Regions from separate parts of the Homo sapiens genome. Here region 2 is linked to region 1. Evidence: promoter capture Hi-C in human tissues and cell types (Jung and others, 2019). All regions are on one chromosome and are shown on one strand. Each heading gives the region's core, a stretch centred on a gene start or on the middle of the fragment in contact. The rest is flanking DNA. Distances are from core to core; before and after follow the strand shown.

Evidence for each region. The method cuts DNA at HindIII sites, captures the fragments that hold promoters and counts their contacts. A contact is called where the count stands out against the background at its distance.
Region 2: the fragment with the promoter of ACSF2 here is called in contact with the fragment with the promoter of XYLT2 in region 1 in 1 of the 25 tissues and cell types used here (adrenal gland).

The regions. Positions count from the first base shown.
Region 1 is chr17:50,344,385-50,347,674 of GRCh38, reverse strand. It overlaps XYLT2 (xylosyltransferase 2), which reads right to left and starts at 1,549. Exons shown (of 11, transcript NM_022167.4): 1 at 1,400-1,549. The coding sequence starts at 1,534. RefSeq lists silencers at 133-427, 1,243-1,332, 1,403-1,502, 1,563-1,762. The HindIII fragment of the contact is 7,409 bases long and covers 1-3,290 here.
Region 2 is chr17:50,424,481-50,427,989 of GRCh38, reverse strand. ACSF2 (acyl-CoA synthetase family member 2) reads right to left here and starts at 1,772. Exons shown (of 16, transcript NM_025149.6): 1 at 1,601-1,772. The coding sequence starts at 1,728. RefSeq lists a silencer at 1,640-1,959 and an enhancer at 1,696-2,240. The HindIII fragment of the contact is 9,502 bases long and covers 1-3,509 here.

The DNA of each region.
Region 1 (3,290 bases), core at 300-2,799:
GAGGTGGTGGGGGATGGGGGCGGTAGCCCAGAGTGGTCACATATTCCAGGGTCAGAGGGCTCCCTAACTGCTTTGGCAGCCCATTCCATCTTGGAATGTCCCATCTGCCCAAACAGTCTTCTTACACTGGGCCTGAAACACTCTCCTACTTGCTTGTCCTACTTGTAGGTCTACACCCCACGGATGTCACGGAGCCAGCCCCACCCCCGCCCCCACCTCCTTTTGGAGTTATGGTCTCATGTGACTCTGTTCCAGCCCCCATCACCATCCCACCCTCTGGGTTCTCCCAAAAAAAGGCAAGGGCAGCTCTTCTGTCTCCACACCAGGCCTTCCAGACTGGCGAGATGCGGTAAGGGGTCGCGGGTATCGGGGCTTGCCGGAGGACAGCAGCAGATAGAGTCTCTGACCCGGAGCCCTGGAGGCAGCAGAACAGGGGCGCTGGGGGCAGGGAGGTCCTGACCTCTGGGCCACAGCTTAGGGCTGTGGTGTGGCCTGTCCTCTCCATCTCCGCAGCACGAACCCAGACCCAATGGACCCTTCCTCACCACACCGCTGAGGTGTCTGAGCCTCCCGCTGAAACCACATCGGGGAAGAGGGAGAAAGACCCTCGAGGCAGGGACTTGGGGGCTGAGACGGCTGTTGGTTGCCCCTGCTCTGCGGCTGGGGCTCTGTTACAGTCCCCATTCCCTTAAAGCCAGAGGGCCCCTCCCTAATTCCCTAAGGTCCTGAGGCCAACTCACCAGCTCAGTTCCTCCTCTCCCTGCCCTCCGGAGACCCATCCAGGTTCTTCAAACCCCCGGCTGAGGAAGCCACACCTCGGGAATACTCCAGTTCTCTCCTTCGGCGTCACTCCCTGTTCCTTCAGTTCCCGGGTACACACTTTGTCCCAGGCCTGAATTCCACCCCCGAGCTCCCCTTCCTCACCGGCCGCTGCCCCTCGGGCTCAGCTGGGGAAGGACGCCCTGAGTCCCTTGGCCCTACTCCTCCGCCCACGGCGCGCATATCCCCGCCCCCTCCCAACTTCAGAAAGTTTGGCCTGGGGCTCCCCACCTCCGAGCAGGTTCGGGCCCAGCCCCGCCTCCCAGCCCCGCTCGCCGCGCCTGACCTTCATCGCTCCCTTGGCCGGAGACCACCCTAGCATGACCTGCTCCCCCCGCCCGACTCCCAATCCACCAGGGCCCGGGTCTCCAGGTCACGCACTGCCCCCGCGCGCAGCTCCCTAGGCCTGCTGGGGAAGGGAGTGCCGGGGGCCGGATGCTCCGCTCTGGGCGACCGCCGGCGCCCCGCACGCACGCACGCGGCCCGTGCCCCACTTCCCCGGCTGGGGCCGCCCGCAGCCCCGCCAGGACCCCGCGCGCCCCCGCGCCCGGCCTGCCCGCCCGCCCGGCCGTCGGAGCACCTCGCCCGCCTCGTCCTCCTCCAGGCCGCTGAAGCTCCACACTACCAGGCCCTGCAGCAGCAGGATGGCCAGCGCCGTGGCAATCGCCAGCTTGTAGCGCCGCACCAGCTTCTGCACTCGCGCGCTCGCCACCATCTTCCTGCCCGGGACGCGGGGCGCGCGCCCAGCCCTGCAACCCGGCCGCGAGCGCGCGCACGGGCGCGGGGCTGAGCCGCCCCCCCTCCTCCACGCCTAGGGAGGCGGGCCGGGCGCGCGCCGGGGCGGGGCCGGGGGCGGGGCCTGCGGGGCCAAAGCACGGCGCACCGCAGGCTAGGGGTGGAGCCGGGGCTCGCAACACCTTCAGTCCCGGCAGTCGCGGGCGTGGGCTTGAGCGCGTGCCTTCTGCGCTCGTGTCTCCGCCGGTGCCCCTGGCTCCCACGTGTGCTCCCCTCCACCTGGACGGCGAGCGCCTGGTGCTGGGGAGTGGAGGGTCTGCGGCACAACCTCTCTTGCCTGGTGTCGGGGGTCGTGGGCGAGTTCAGTCCCACGCGGGTAAGCTCTCGGTCCCGGGGGCCCAGGGAACGCCAGGGCTCCCAGAGACGCCGCCTTGGGAGAGGGCGTGTGAGAGCCACAGGCGTCTGCTTAAAAACCTGGAGGCCGCACCTGCGGGGCAAAGTCTAACCCCTTGACTGGCATCAGAGAGCCTTCACGAATCCTCCTTTCCGCTCTGCGCTCATCCTAAGCATCCTCAGGCCGCTCCCAGAGTCGTGGTTCTCAAACTACTCTAGCGTGTGTTGGAGTCTCTTGGAGGTCTTGATAAAACAGATTTTTAGTGCCCCTCCTCCCTCCCCCAGAGTGTCTGCTTTGGTAGGTCGGTAGTGAGGCCTAAGCATTAGAATTTTCAGCAGGTTCCCAGGTGATGCTGATGCCTTTGCTCTGGGACCAAACTTGGAGAACCAGTAGACCTCGACACATGCTGCTCCCTCTGCCAAGTCCCCACCCCCTACACCATCAGTGGCATCCTCCCTGTGCGTCCCCAGCACTGTGCAGTGAGCACCAATCATACATCCGGTCGTGACTGCTCTGGGATCTCGCCCTGCCTTGGACACCCAGCAATGCTCAAGAAATGTTGCGGAAAGCAAGCAGGGGAGGCCCAGATTCCCGTCTAACCAGCTGTCCCTAACATTTGTTTGAGAACCCGGCGTGTTCAATGAGCACCGCATTGGACAAGGTCTAAGCACCTGCGGCCTTCCCTAAGCCTGGCAGGCCCATGGAGAGAGGGAAGGCGAGAAGAGCAAAACAGTGGCCACCAAAGCAAGGTGAATCCCCAGCTGGGGAAGCCAGGCACTGGGAGGAGGAAGTCATAAAAATAGCAAACACAAGTTAGAAGGTTTAAAGGGAAGACGTTAGGAACCACTACAGAGAGGTCTGGAAAGAGAAGTGGCTTACAAAAAAAAAAGTTTGAAAAGTTAGAAGGCCATGATGGAGGGGTTTGGAAGTTGCCACAAGGTTGGGTTGATGAGAGAATTCTAAACTGATGTGTACAGGATACACAAGCATTTGATGGTACATAAATAACCTCCTTTAATCGTCTTCTGCGCTTTAGCATTTGTAATCATTCTGTTCCTCCGCGTTTGTTAAATGGGAGAATTGTAAACTATGTTTCCGACGACAGTTTGGCTACTTAAGAGAGCCTACACTTCAATGATTTTGGAAAACATCAGTTGACATCCCGGCAATTGATATGTTAATTAAATATTGATCTTGTGTGCTCATTAAATCAGATCCTCTAGGGACTTCTACCTGCCAAGAATTCCCCCCACAACAATGAAAATAGCTTTATTTTTCACTGATTATATAAGTAATAAATATCCATTATATAACATTTAAACACTAAACGAATAAGAAAAAA
Region 2 (3,509 bases), core at 523-3,022, 80 kb before region 1:
TCACAGTCAGACAATAAGGGTGCAGGCACAAGGGAGTGGAAGGGGCAGAAAGAAAGTAGGCCAAACACTCAGAAAATCATCTGTCTGGATAAATGAGTCTCCTCCTGACACAGCAATAAGAATTTCTCTGAAGCTTGGTGCTCTCAGAGGTCCCAGGGCTGTAGCAGGTAAGTGACCTGTTTTGTTTATAGATAAAAAAAAGTCAAAGGTCAGAAATGTTGCCATGTGGCCTGATTTATTACTTATTTATTGGTTTGTTTGTTTGTTTTCTATTGGGCAGCCTCCTGAGCCAGAGTAGGCTGAGAGACTTCCCCTGTGGCCTGATTTAGTGTGATAAAATATGTACACTTTGGGAAGTAACTTTCCTCAGAGTCCTCCCAGCCTGAGGGGGCAGCCATGAGTCCAGAGGAGAGGCTTAAGAGACTAGGGGGTCAGGGGAGGGCCGAACTTGTCTAGGGAGACCCTGGGAAGTAGTGAGTGACTTCCCAGGGTCACTGGGAAGAGGACCCCACTGTCCTCATCTCAATCCCATCTACTGACCAGCCTTGATCCACTTAGTTTTCTCAGCAAATTAGGCAGAGTGATGTTAAGGCATTGCATGCTTTCTAGCATTCAGAAATCAGCAAGTTCAGAAAGTGTGATCTTGGAGTTCTAGCCAAAAAGGAGTCTGCATGTCCCTCCAACTCTTCCTACTTAGCCTTTTTAAAAACAAAAACAAATCTAGTTCTCTGAGACACAGCTTTGTTCTGACTTCTCCCTTTTCCATGTCCAGGCCCACACCCCATCTGATGTTGCTGAAAGTGCTGTCCTGACCATAGACTTAGTATCTGGCCGAGTTGAGTGGTAGGACAGGCTCAGTAGTGCACAGGGCTCCCCAGTGGTGCTGCTGAAGCTAACAGCCCTGATAACATGAGTGGCAGCCTGCTCTCTGTGTCTCAAGCACTTTCACATTTGCCATCTCACGGGGTCCTCCCAAGGACTGGTCACACCGGGAAGGCAGCTTTACTTACTGTGCTGCTGCAGAGGCAGTGAAGCTACTGGGAACTGAAATCCTCTGCCTGCCAGCTTCCATCCCACCCCTTGCACTGAGGACAGAAGGAAATAGGCCCAGGAGTAGGCAGCAAAGAATTAAAGCCATGTTAGTGAGCAGCTGATGAGGAGACAGGAGACTGCTAAGTTTAGTGGCCTGGGTCGGGGAGACTGGGGCTGATCCCCAAGTTTGCCCATGAAGGGGTTCCAACTCAGAGGCAGTGTCCTGGGGGTACAGCCCAGGCCTTGGCCCTTGCCCCTCCCCATCGGAATATTCTCCTTAAAGCCCACACTCCTTGCCCTCTGTGCCCATAAAGGAGAAGGAATCGAGAGTCTTGGACCAGAACTCGAAGTCACTGCAGCCACCAACCAAAGCCCCCTCCCCACCCAAGTCCACCAGGCCAAGCCAGCTTTTCCTATTGCCTAGGTGCTGGCGGGGGGCGGGGGAGGGGCGGGTACCTTCCCCCCAGTGCACTCGTCCAGAGGTGGGGCTTCCGAAGCTCGCCGGGACCTCCAAGTTCCTCTCCCGGGGAACTGCCCCGCCCCCTCTCTTCCCGCGGGGGGCCAGTACCTGAGGAAGCGGACACCCTGCAACCTGGCTTCCTGCCAACTCCGAGAGAGGGCGGCCCGGGCCCCCAGCACCCCCGAGCTCCCGGCGCACAGCCTCCCCAGGCGCAGCATCCCGACGTAGACAGCCATGGCTCGCTTTGCCCTGCGTCCCGGCCCGAGTAAACTTTTAAAGTGAGCCGGGGCGGGGCGGGCGCGCAGCGGGCGGGGAGGCGGGGAGGGTGGCCTCTGCCTATGGGGTGCGGCGGATTCGGTCTCCGCCGGCGGGGCGGGGCGGGGCGCGGCGGCGGCGACTTCGCGCGGGGCCACCTTCCCCTCCGACCCCGCGGCCCTCCCCCTCCCACCCTCGAAGAATAGCCCTGGTTTCCTCTGGATCCGAAGGCCCCAGCTGCAGTCCGAAACAGATCTTCCTCGCGACCATCCTCAGGGGCCTGGATGTTAGAAGCGCAAAAATTTGTTGATTTCCTAGAGGGAGAGCCAGCAGCACATCCGTGAGGGGCCAGATGGCAAGGTCAAGATCCATCCATCCCCTGCCCCCTCGGGTCACGTGCTGGCCCCGCTACTTGCGAGCCGGGGGCCAAAGGAGCAGGCGCGAAGCGTCCTTGAGGCATGCCAGCTGGAGCAGAGGGCCCCGCGGGGTTGGGGAGGCAGCCAGAACAAAGGGTGTCGCGGGTGAGCCCCCTGCGGGCCCGCTGGCGCCAGAGTCCCAGCTGAGGCCAGATGTCAGCTTCAGAAGGAACACCAGTTGTACCCCATCTCACAGGAGGCATCCTCCCATCCCTCCTCGGCGCCTCTGCCTTGACCTTCTGCACAGGGTTGGGGGCCGGACACGTAAGGTGGCCTCAGGGACTGGGACCTGTGTATTTCATCCTCCATCTGCCTGTCTTGGGGCCTGTGGCACAGTTCCCTGTGCTGCCCCAGGTGTGAATGGAAAGCAACCCTATGCCCCTCCTTAGGGTTCCTGAGGCCCAGGGGTGAGTGGGGTACTAAGACCTGGGCAGAGCTGCGGGACAGAGAAGGTGATAGCTCTGGTCCTGGCTAGGAAAAGTGGCACTGGGCACCAAAGAGTAGCACAGTTTATACCTGTTCCAGGTCCACACTGCCTCGGCCTAGCCATGACTCTTCCTCTAGAGAAGGAGCTGGAGAAGAATGGGGCAAAGGCCCTGGCAGTGTGACCTCCCCTCTCCTGACTGGAGGAGATGAAGTAAACCCTGCCAGGCAGAAGGGGTGGCTGAGAGTGGAGCCTGGCCTGAGGTGACCTTTGCCCTTATCTGGGAACTCTGGCTCCACTTGGGTCATGAGAAGGAGTCCATGCTGGGCCTCTTTATGATCTTGAGCGTGACCTCAAATCCTCCCTGGAACCCCGGTTCCTAGGGAGGGTCCCCACACTTCAGTTTCTGTGGGGTTGGGGCAGGAAGAGACAGAGGAACAAAGAGATCACCGGAGGCTGGGCCTGCAAGGGTGTGCTTTCCTAATTAGACTAACTGTCTTTGATAGCGGACCAGGGAATGTGGAGGGCTGGGGCATTCACAAGTCTGGGTTCCCAGCCGTGGCTGGCAGGCTTAGCCTCTAGCATGCTGGGTGACCCTGGGTAAACCACTGTCCCTCTCTTGGCCTATGAAGTGTGGGGTGGGTACTGATCTTGTAGGTCCTTCCACTCTTCTGGCTAGTTTGAGGGTCAGTCCTAGAGTGGGAGAGAAGTGAGTTCCTCCTTGAACTTTGCTCCAGCCTCGGCTTTTCAAGACACTGGGCTTTCCTGACTCTTCCTAGGTGCACAGGCCGTGGCATCATAGCCATCAGTTTCAGGGTATCTTGTACATGCCAGGCTCTTCAAGGACATTTTCTCTGACCCTCACAAACACCCTGCAAGGAACAGGCATGGCTTGGAATGTGTCTTTGTTTTTATGGATGAA